Regions from separate parts of the Homo sapiens genome. Here region 1 is linked to region 2. The links are contacts of gene promoters, found by promoter capture Hi-C in human tissues and cell types (Jung and others, 2019). All regions are on one chromosome and are shown on one strand. The core of a region is centred on a gene start or on the middle of the fragment in contact, and the rest is flanking DNA. Distances in the headings are between cores, read along the strand shown.

What was found. The method cuts DNA at HindIII sites, captures the fragments that hold promoters and counts their contacts. A contact is called where the count stands out against the background at its distance.
Region 1: the fragment with the promoter of SYTL1 here is called in contact with the fragment with the promoter of GPR3 in region 2 in 6 of the 25 tissues and cell types used here (IMR-90 fibroblasts, adrenal gland, aorta and 3 more).

Annotation. Positions count from the first base shown.
Region 1 is chr1:27,337,995-27,343,271 of GRCh38, reverse strand. It overlaps SYTL1 (synaptotagmin like 1), which reads right to left and starts at 1,250. Exons shown (of 15, transcript NM_001193308.2): 1 at 1,122-1,250. RefSeq lists enhancers at 1-615, 790-839, 1,370-1,629. The HindIII fragment of the contact is 14,194 bases long and covers 1-4,327 here.
Region 2 is chr1:27,388,073-27,394,013 of GRCh38, reverse strand. It overlaps GPR3 (G protein-coupled receptor 3), which reads right to left and starts at 1,392. Exons shown (of 2, transcript NM_005281.4): 1 at 1,277-1,392; 2 at 1-220. The coding sequence starts at 215. RefSeq lists enhancers at 630-1,165, 1,703-2,239, 2,240-2,776 and a silencer at 1,189-1,688. The HindIII fragment of the contact is 10,052 bases long and covers 1-5,941 here.

The sequences.
Region 1 (5,277 bases), core at 1-2,500, 51 kb after region 2:
ACAGTGACTCCGGAAAGAAAGCATTTGCCCAGCGCTGAGGGGCATGTAGACGTGGCAAGGGGCCCATGACTTGGTCAGGGCTGTGTCCTGAGCCCACTGGGCGGCCTCTCCTCTCTTCCCCGCCCCTTCCATTGCCACGGCTCCAGGTGGGGCTGAGACCGGCGGAGGCAGCTTGGCGGGCAGGTCCTGGCTTGTGTCCGCCGCCTGCTATGCTCTGTCCCCTCCCAGCTGAGTCAGTGGCCGAGCCCCAGCGATCCCTCTTGACACCCTCAGGAGCAGAAGGCCTCAGCACGGCTGCACGGTGTGCATTCACTCTGTGGATACCTGTGTGCTCCACAACAGCAGTTTCCCTGGACTTCTGTGGCCAACGTGTGAGCCCACGTTCGGCCTCCCCTGTGGATTGGGGTGTGAGCCCACGTTCGGCCTCCCCTGTGGATTGGGGTGTGAGCCCACGTCCCTCTCTGTGCCCTGTTGTGTGGCTGTGTGGGTCCGAGTCTGGTGGGCATGTCTGCGTTGCGTGAGTCTGTGAGCTGTGTAGTTGCTGTGTGTCTTTGTGTCCTGTTGCAGTGTGATGCTGCATGGTGACTATATTGTCTGTGTGGTGTGTTCAGTGACTTTCTAGGTGACAGCGCCGTGTGGGGTGTGTACAGTATGCATTGTGCATTTCCTCCTGTGCTGTATGTGTGACTGGGCTGTGTGCTGTGGGGTGTCCCCTGGTGCCTTGGGGGCCACCAGGTGTGTGTGTCTGAGTGTGGATGGAGGCCGGGGGGACGTTCGGCAGAACTGAGCCTATTTCTGTCCTTCAGGCCTGCCTGAGCTGGGCCATGGGCATCAGCCCAGCGTCCTCAGCAGTGCCCCCTCCCTGAAGTCCCCTCTCCTACCAACCAGAGGCAGAATCTCCTACCAGAGTTAGGTAGGAGTTTGGTCTTCTCTGCTGTTTTGACACGGTGGGACAGACCCATTGGTCAAGAGGAGGGTCTGTCCATCTGTCCAGCTGTTCCAGTTCCAGACATGTGCCCACCTCCCCCAACCCCAAGGTGCTGGAGGGTGCTCAGGATACCAGGTGGCAGTGCCTGCGTCTCTGGACCCTGGCAGGGGACCCTGGCACCGACACGTGTTACCTGTAGGGGTCCAGTATGGGAGGACACCTTCGCAGGTGGCTCCAGCTCCCCTGGCAGCCGAGTTTCAGGGACCGGGAGAAGAGCCGTGAGGGAAGAAGGCTGACTCAACAGGCAGCCCAGCCAGCAGCTGCCCCACACGGAGGAGGAGGAAACACCTCGGCAGGGCCTGATGCAAAACCGGGCCTGGACTCCCAGCGCCCGGGGGTGCGCCCCCGCAGCCGACTGGAGAGGCCCAGCTTGGCCCCAGCTCCACTGAGCAGGCCCTCTAGAACGGGTAGCAGCCCCACCTTGCCCACAACGGGGCTGATAGGAACTCGCTTTGAAAGCAAGTTAGAAACCTTTCTTTTCCAGCCCCAAGGGGAATGGCAGGATGGCAGACTTTGCAGTTAGACCACCCTGTGCAGAGTCCCTGCTCTGCCAGTGGGTGTGTGATGTGACCTTAAGCAGGTCTCTTCCATTTCTTCTGATGCAAACTGTGGGTAGCAGAGTGCAAGGAGCCTATACTAAGGGAAGTGAAAGTGCCCGGTGCGAGCTGGCATAGTCGGGGTGAGGTGTCCCCACTCCAGCATAGCCTAATGCCCACGGCCATCTCAGCAGCTGCTGCCCTCTATATCCACATGCACTTCTGGGACATGCTGGCAGAGCAGCCCTCTCTGTCCCCTCTGCTGTCCTGAGCCCCATCTGTTTGAGGAGGCCTGAACTCTTCTAGTGCCAAGGTGAGGGTCCCACACCCTCTGTCTATGTGGAGCCCCCCTGAACTCACCCCATTCTACACCTAGATTCTGCCCACCCTGAGATTAGAAGGTTTGGGCCCTAGATTACATTGGCTTCAGGACCATGAACCTCCTGGGTTGTCTTGGGCACAAGAGGCCACACCAAAGCTTTCTGACTCCCCCCAAGTCCACTTCACTTCCCATGGCCTGCCCTGGCCCAACCCCCTCCCCTGAACCTAGGGCCATGGATTAAAGATTAGTGGGCTCCTCATAGACCCCTGGGAGAGGCAGGACAAGGGGTGGATTCTAAACAAAACCAGTCTGGGCACAGTGACTCATGCCTGTAATCCCAGTACTTTAAGAGGTCGAGGTGGGCGGATCACTCTAGGACAGGAGTTTGAGACCAGTCTGGCTAATATAGTGAAACCCCGTCTCTACTCAAAATACAAAAATTAACCGGGCATGGTGGCAGGTGCTTGCAGTCCCAGTTACTCGGGAGGCCGAGGCAGGAGAATCGCTTGAACCCAGGAGGCGGAGGTTGCAGTGAGCCGAGATCGCACCACTGCACTCCAGCCTGGGCAACACAGCGAGACTCCGTCTCAGAAAAGCAAACAAGGCTGGGCGTGGTAGCTTACACCTGTAATCCCAGCACTTTGGGAGGCCGAGACGGGTGGATCACGAGGTCAGGAGATCAAGACCATCCTGGCTAACACGGTGAAAACCCATCTCTACTAAAAATACAAAAAAAATTAGCTGGGCGTGGTGGCGGCTGCCTGTAGTCCCAGCTATTTCCCGAGTAGCTGAGGCAGGAGAATGGCATGAACCTGGGAGGTGGAGCTTGCAGTGAGCCGAGATCGCACCACTGCACTCCAGCCTGGGCGACAGAGCGAGACTCCGTCACAAAAAAAAAAAGAAAAGAAAAGAAAAGAAAACTAAACACCCACTCTTCCTTCCTGTAATCAGAACCGACTCCCACCACCACTGAGAGACAGAGGACCCTCCTCCACCTCAGAACCACAGTGGAGGCTTCCCTACTTATTTTTTGCAAATTAATCTTATTTTTCTCATCTGTTAAATGGGGGTAATCTCTCCTTAGAGGGTTTTCACTAAAATTCAGTGAGATCCTTGCAGACTTTTTTTTTTCTTTTTTTTAGATGGAGTCTTGCTCTGTCGCCCAGGCTGGCTTGGCTCACTGCAGCCTCCGCCTCCTGGGTTCAAGTGATTCTCATGCCTCAGCCTCCCGAGTAGCTGGCACTACAGGCGCCCGCCACCACGCCTGGCTAATTTTTGTATTTTGAGTAGAGATGGGGTTTCACCATGTTGGACAGGCTGGGCTCGAACTCCTGGTCTCATGTGATCTGCCTGCCTCAGCCTCCCAAAGTGCTAGGACTACAGGCGTGAGCCACCTTGCCCAGACCCCAGTACTCTTGATTAATGCATTTATGCACCCACACATGCAATACCCATGGAGCAGCTGCTGTGGGACCATTACTGTGATGCTGCCTCCTTCATTAAGGCCCTCAAAATGGAAGGAGAGTGGCCAAGAACATCCACACCCCTTCCTGCCATCCTGGTCCTGGCGCCCCCAAGGATGTTTCTCTGCCCTCCTCTCACCTCCTTAGCAGCTCTTCCTCCTGGAAGGCATGAAACTTCATTATCTGGTCTTCGGGTTTCTAAATTTCCCTTCCTTTCTCTGCTCTCCTGTCCTTCCTATAGCTGTGACTCCCTGACGCTGATACTTCCAGCCATCTCTCCTGCTGTGTCTCAACCTGCATTCCTCTGGCCTCTTCCCCACTTGAAACCTATTTCCAAGTTTCCACCTCTGTAACCAGCCCCCATCATCCTGGCCCCTGGCCTCCTGCTGCTTCCTGCCACCTCCAGATGCTGTCCACACTTCACTCCAGGTGCCCTCCCATCTGTGTGTCTCTGCTGTCCTCCCCCTGCCCAGGTCTCAGTCCCCGCTCAGCCTCTTCTGGAAGCCTCCTCTTCTCCTGCCTCCTTGCGGCCACACAAGGCCACTCTGGCCCTATGTTGCACAACTTTCAAACGTACTTTTCTTTGTCATCCTCTGGTTTGGAAGGTGCCAGCAGACAGCCAGGCCATCCCTCGGGCCCATTCATACATTTCTAAACCAGTCCAGTCCCCTTTAGACACGTCCTGAGATGGAAGTCTCACCACTTCCCAGGACAGCCTGGCCCTCAGCCTGACCCTCAGGATTGCTGCCCTTACTCTGGCTTTCTCCCCTTCGTCACCTATACCCGTAGAGCCTTAGCTGTGGGCTATTTCCTGTCCTTCAACACCCCTGGGCCTTCTGTGCTCCCTGTGGGAATACTTTTCCCCAGCTCCAGGACTAGCTCAGCCTCCTCCAGAGTTCAGTGCCCCTGCGCTGCAGCCAGTCTCTAGGCAACATCCCTCTGTTAAGAGGGACATTAAGAGGCAGGGTCCTAGAGGCCAGCAGATCTGGGTTAAAATCTGGCTCTGCCGCATGGTTCCCTGTGGCCTGGGATCAATGACAATCCCTGTAAGCCTCACTCTCTTCCTTTATGAAGTGGGGACAATAGCCATCTCACAGGCCTGCTGCTGTCAGGAGAGCTTGTTTTTCACCTCCGCGGCCATTCTCCTTTCGCATCACAGCACCTCTCATTTCCACTCCTGTGCTCCAGTGAGGCCATCGCACAGGGTGGCTCTGAGTGGGGGCTCTGGAGCCCAGCTGCTGGGTTTGAACCATAGTTCCACTCTTCCTACCTCTGTGACCCGGAGCAAATCACTACTTCTCTGCTTACTTCTTCATCTGTAAAATGGGATGATGGCACTTACCTTGTTGCAGGGCTGTTGTGAGGCTAAGATGGTATTTTATTACAAGGCCTAGCACAGAGTAAGCACTCGCTAACTGTTGGTGACTTTTTTTTTTTTTTTTTAAGAGACGGGGCCTTAGGCCGGGCATGGTGACTCACACCTGCAATCCCAGCACTTTGGGAGGCCGAGGCAGGCGGATCATGAGGTCAGGAGTTTGAGACCAGCCTGGCCAACATGACGAAACCTTGTCTCTACTGAAAATACAAAAATTAGCCGGGCATGGTGGCAGGCGCCTGTAATCCCAGCTACTCGGGAGGCTGAGGCAGGAGAATCGCTTGAATCCGGGAGGCGGAGGTTGCAGTGAGCTGAGATCATGCCATTGCATTCCAGCCTGGGTGACAAGAGCAAGACTCCATCTCAAAAAAAAAAAAAAAAACAAAACAAAAAAAAAGAGAGAGAGAGAGGGAGAGACGGGGTCTTGCTCTGTCACCCTTGACCTCCTGAGCTCAAGCTATCCTCCCATTTCAGTCTCTTGAGTAGTAGCTGGGGCTGCAGGTACGCACCATCATGCCCAGCTAATTTTATTTTTTAATTTTTTGTAGAGATGGGGTCTCACTTTGTTGCCGAGGCTGGTCTCAAACTCTTGG
Region 2 (5,941 bases), core at 143-2,642:
CGGAAGGCAGGAGTGCCCACGATGATGGCCACCACTAGCGCATTCTCGCAGGACACCAGGGTGCCTGAGATGCAGAGCACCACATCCCAGGCCTTAGGCGAGGGCAGTGGTGCGGCTGGACCTGTGGGCCCCTCTGCTGGGCCCACGCTGCTTACATTCACGTTGCCTGAGCCAGCTGAGAGCCAGGCCAGAGGGCTGCCTGCACCCCACATCATGGTACCTGCAGGAGAAAGGCCTTGTGAGAAGCTGACCAAGCTGGGTGATGGGAGTTGGGGTCTGGAGGGGGTGAGGTGCTTCTCAGGATACGTGGTGGGAGTCTCTCCTCAGGATACCTGATAGGGTCCCAATGCCTTATCCCCACATTCATGCCCTGGGGCTCTTCCCAGGATACCGCTGTCCCCTCCAATGCCCCCAGGCCTCTAAACAGGGGTCTCTTCCTGGGGATCCCTGTCCTAGGTCCTGCAGGTCTCTTTTTCCCACGTGTGTGACCAGAGGAGAGACAGAAGAAGGGGTACTATAAGTGGAAGAGGGCCATAGGATCCAGGGGATGCCCCCGAAGGCTCAAGATTGGGGTAGGGAAACATCTACCCCATCAGGGAGACTGAGCAGCTCCGCTCCCTCCCATCAGAGATGATGATGCTAGCTCGTGCCTGAGGCTCCCAGACCCCTCACGATTTTCAGTACTGCCAGCCTTAGACTCCGCCCCCAGGGAATGCGCGTGAAGCTCCCGCCAGCCATCACCCCGCACTCCCGCGGTAACACCTGGGAACTCAGCCCCCCACCCCCCACCCTCCCAGACTTCTGTTCCTGGCTGGACCCTTCTTTCCGCCTGAATCTCTAGGTCTCTGGGCAGACCCCCCTGCTGGAAGACTGGATCCCTGAGTCAGATGCCTCCTTCTGCCCGGACACCTGGATTTTGGGCCTGACTCTGCCTCCTGCCTGGATACCTGGATTCCTAAATTGGACACCTCCTGCTGTTCGGACCCCTGGGTCCCTGCCCCAGACGCCTCCTGCCGGCTTAACCTCAGATGACCATCAGTCCCTCCAGGGCCTCGGGTCCCTGCAGGAATGCTTACCCTTCGCCGGGTCATCCAACTCAACCCCAGCACTCGAGCACTTGGGCCCAAGCCTGCTAACCCAGAATCGCCTAAACCCAGAATTCCCACCTCGAACTCGAACCCCGGCCGGCCACTAGGAGCCTTCCGCCGGCCCAGTGCCCCAGCATCCTGCGTGCCCTTCAGGACCCCTGGTGCCCGCGGCGGGGCCCGCTACTCACCGCTCAGGACCAGGCGCGGCCGGGCCGCGGGGAGGCTCCGCTCGGGTCCTGGCGGCGCAGGGCGTGCGTGGACCCCGAGAAGCCCCCGCGGCCGCGGGAGAAGCGGCGTGAGTCACCCCGCCCCGCCCCCGGCCACCGGTTCGGTGACGTCAGCGGTCCGATCAGCCAATGGGCGCGGCGCGCTGGGGCGCAGCGCGCGTTGCGCGGCATAGTAATAAGGCCTCGCACCGCCCGCTCCCCCATTCATAAAAAGCGACCGTGGCTGCGGCCCCGCCCCCTCCCGAGTCCGCCCGCGCTGTCCTTGACGCGGCGCCCTCTGCGGGCCGGGGGTTTCAGAGGCGCCGGTGCGAGAGCCTTGAAGTCTCAGAGAGGCTGCAGGGAACGTGGTGGAAGAGTGGAAAGGGGGCCCGGCTAGGCTGTGGGGTGATGGGACCCTTGGGTGGCAGAGAGGCTGACGAGATCCAGGTGACGAAGGAAGAGCTTGTGATGGGGCTGGTTGGGCTTCCCTGGTGAGAATGACAGGGTTTCCAAGATGATGGGGCCCTGAGGTGACGATGACAGGGAGCACGAGGGAGCGGGGAGGTGGGTGGCAGTGACGACATTAGCATGGTGACAGAATCTTGGGGTGGGGGGTGATGGCCGTGGGACGCTAACGGTAGAGGGGAAGCCCTCAGGGCAACCATGGCAGTGTCAGGGTGACTATGCAGCAGGGGGGAGTTCAGGGACCCCGGGATGGCAGAGGCAGCGGCCTGGGAACATGGAGTGTCCAGGTGACTTCAGGTCACCATTACCCTGTCAGAATGGCTGGGGTACTGAAGCGACAATGCTAAGCCATGAGGACTGTGGGGCCCTGGAACGAAGATAGCAGGTGGCTGTGGTGAGTGGGCTCCAGGGTGAGGGGCACAGGGTAGAGGGTCTGGACTGACAGTGACCAGGCAGGTAAGTTGCTGCCAGGGCAAGTCCCGTGATGCCGGGGCTGGGATAAGAGCTGGGTGACGTCACTCATGTCAGCCCAATAGCGCCCTCACAGCACCGGAGGGGTGGGCCTGGCAAGATTTCAAAACCTGAATTATTTATTCCAGTATCTAGAAAGCCAGCGTGGAGGGGGTGAGGGGTGCACTTCCCTGAAGCAGGAGGAGATGGGGAGCCGGGAAGAACTTGGAAGCAGAAAGCCTGGCAGCTCAGTCCTCAGGGCAGGCCCCTCTCAGCCTCCTATTTTAGGCATCCTGATGGGTGGAGCAAGGAGAAAGAGCTCCCTCTTCCCCAACGCCATCTGCCCTTAGTCCAGGGGAACCACTCTGGGCAGACTTCTCCAGATGTGACAGATGTGGCCAGTCCTGCGGCAGGGGGACTGGCTGCTCCTTCTCCCTGTGTCTCTTGCCTTGATGCTCCCTGGAATCATGCAGGCCTGTGGGAGGGGAAGATGAGGTTAAGAGGCCTGAGGATCCCAGGCCCCACTGGACACCCCCATCACAGCACCATCACTGCAGCCCCCATGGTCAGCCTCCACCAGGCAGGTTTTGGGTTTGAGTGTGAGGCAGCAGAAGGTCAAGTGGCAGGGAACATGGGAGGAGGAGGGGGTCGGAGCTGGAGAAGAGGATTCATTTCAGGTTGGATGTGGTGAGTTTAGGGGGCTTAGGGGGTGGAAGTGTCCAATCTCAGTTTCTCCATTTCCTAGCTGGGTGACTTTGGAGAGTTTCTTCAGCTCTCTGTGCCTATTTCCTCATCTAAAACACAGGGATAATATTAGTACCGGCCTCATGGGGTTGTTGAGTGGGTTCTACTTGCCATTGGCCATCAATGTTACAGCTGGATAATGAGGGACACCTGGGAGGTGTAGGCATGCAGGTGGCAACTGATGTTTTAGGGGTAAATAATGTCACCCAGGGGCGGGAGCAGAGAGTGAGGAGTGGCTTCAGGGGCTCCTCCTCCTGGGCTCTTGCACCTGACCCCTCTGACAACAACCCTTCTCTTCATCCAGGTCTCTGCTCCCGAATTACTTCTGAAACAGGCTGCTCTGAACTCTCAGATCGCCACTGGCCTCCCCATCACTCTCCCTCCCCTTCTCTTGATTTATTCATTTTTGGAGGATGAAGCACTCTTGAAATTATAAATGAATTCATGTTTGTTTGTTTTACTACATGTCAGCCCCACTAGAATCTAAGCTCCAAGAGGATACTGACTATGTCCCATTTCTGCTAGAGAACAGTGCCTGATATGTAATGGGTATTGAAGAAATAATCATGGACTGGATGATTGACCTAAAAGGGAACAACCAGAGGAAAAAAGGAAAACAGAGAGAATAGTAATATGCCTGGTGCCCAGGAAGGTGGGGGTGTCAGAGAGAGGATCCAAGGGCATCAGGGCCCCAAGACTCAGGGTCAGGGATCCATTTACTCCCCCATCAGAGCTGGGTCCCTACAGAGTTCTGGTCTCTGCGATGGGTGAAGGCTGCTGGGAGGTTGGCATCAAAGGGGGGTATCAGGGACTATCTTCTACTACTCTGAATGGCAATTATATATTTTTTAAGTTTTCGTAGCTTATTGATCCTCTGGTGAAAAATCTTCACCATTGCTGCAGATAAAGCCATTCCTGTTTGCCAGCACCAGCACCACACTCTTGTGACTCCCTGGCTGTCGTCATTCTGTTCTTGAGTTCCTTTAGCTGTTTTCTTGAGGTCTTTTTCTTTTATGTCTTGCAAGTCTGTGTTTGGATTAATTTTTCTTTGCATAATCCAAGGAATCATAAATCATAACCAAGCCAGTTGTCTTAACACCACCAAAATGGGTTCTGTCTTTTTTTTTCGTTTGTTTGTTTTTTGAGACAGGATCTCAGTCTGTCACCCAGGCTGGAGTGTAGTGGTGCAATCAATGCTCACTGTAGCCTCAACCTCTTGGACTCAAGCAATCCTCCCATCTCAGCCTCCACAGTAACTGGGATTACAAGCACGTGTCACCACGCCTGGCTAAGGCGTGTAATTTTTGTAGAGACAGGGTTTCGCCACATTGCCCAGGCTGGTCTTGAACTCGTAGGTTCAAGTGATCTGCCCACCTTGGCCTCCCAAAGTGCTGGGATTACAGGCATGAGCCACTGTGCCCAGCCCAAAATGGGTTCTAAATACAAAGATGAAATCCAGAGTGGTCTTCTACTTTTTGACTAGTTTTCTGTCTTAGGTATTGTTGTCTTCCCAGGGTGAAGGACACGGAAGACCATCATTTCCACTGAAGTATTGGTCATGAACTTCCTGATCCTGATAGTTATCCTGTTGTTTGCAAGGGAAGTTGATCCTAAGGCAGCCAGAGAGGAAAAGAGAGTGCAGTGACATTTCTTTTCTTTCCTTTTTTTTTTTTTTCCGAGACAGTTTTATTCTTGTTGCCCAGGCTGGAGTGCAGTGGTGCAATCTCGGCTCACTGAAACCTCTGCCTCCTGGGTTCAAGCGATTCTCCTGCCTCAGCCTCCCAAGTAGCTGGGATTACAGGTGCCCGCCACCATGCCCAGCTTTTTTTTTTTTTTTTTTTTTTGTATTTTTAGTAGAGACAGGGTTTTACCATATTGGTCAGGATGGTCTTGAACTCCTGACCTCAGGTGATCCACCCTGCTCAGCCTCCCAAAGTGCTGGGATTACAGGTATGAACCACCGCACCCGGCATGCAGTGACATTTCTAACCCCGAGAAACCCAGGAGAGCCAAGAGACTAAAGGGGGGCTATGGGTTTTCACGTGAACCTCATGTGCTCTCCCTCACGCACCAAAAGTGCTCATACCAATCAGGTCTCCATTCCCCGCATACTTGCTCTCTAAAGGAAGAGATAGTTCCTTCTCTCCTATTCTCCTCATGCCCTCTGTCCCTACCTCCTTGACACCTCCTCCAACCCTTCCCACCTACCAGGTGCCCAGCCAGAGCCCAAGGCTTACAACAACCTGCAAAAGTGAGGGACCATGTCTCCATTTCTTGGGTGAAGCCCAGGAAAGCCAAGGGACTTGCCCCAAATCACATAGTAAATGGCAGAGCTGGGATCTGAAGCCAGGTCCATCTGTCACCAAGTCCAGTGTGCCTTCCATTCTGGCCTAGATGTCACCTTCTTCCCAGAAGGGGCTGAGGCTAAAGTTTGACTAGGGCTGACAATACCTGCAGTTCTCCAGGTGGCCACCAGATGGCTGTGAGGACTCACTTCCAGGTGAGACTTTTATCCTTGCCTCTTCTGTCTTCACCAGTTGGAGAAATCCCTTGGGGAGGGAGGAATTGGCGGGGAGGGGGTGTTCGTGCGTGTGTGCTTGTGTGTGTGTGTGTGTGTCAGTCATAGATAATCCCCACACCTGAGTCCCTTGTCTAAGACCCAAGGGTCTAGGCATCATCAGTGCCCATATTCTTAGCATAGACCCATTCATTCAGCCATTATTTACTGGCAGTTCCCCTGGGCTTAGGGTTTGTTCAGTGGGTGCTAGGGACAGAAAGATGATCTGGCCAAATTCCTGCCTTTTCAACAGTCAATAGACACATTTATTGAGCATCTTCTATTTCCCGGGTACAGAGAATACAGCAGTGAACAAAAATCCCTGCCATCTTCAATGAGCTTCAGTTTTATTAATTAATTTATTTAGTTAGTTATTTTGAGACATAGTCTTGCTCTGTTGCCCAGGCTGGAGTGCAGTGGTGCAATCTCAG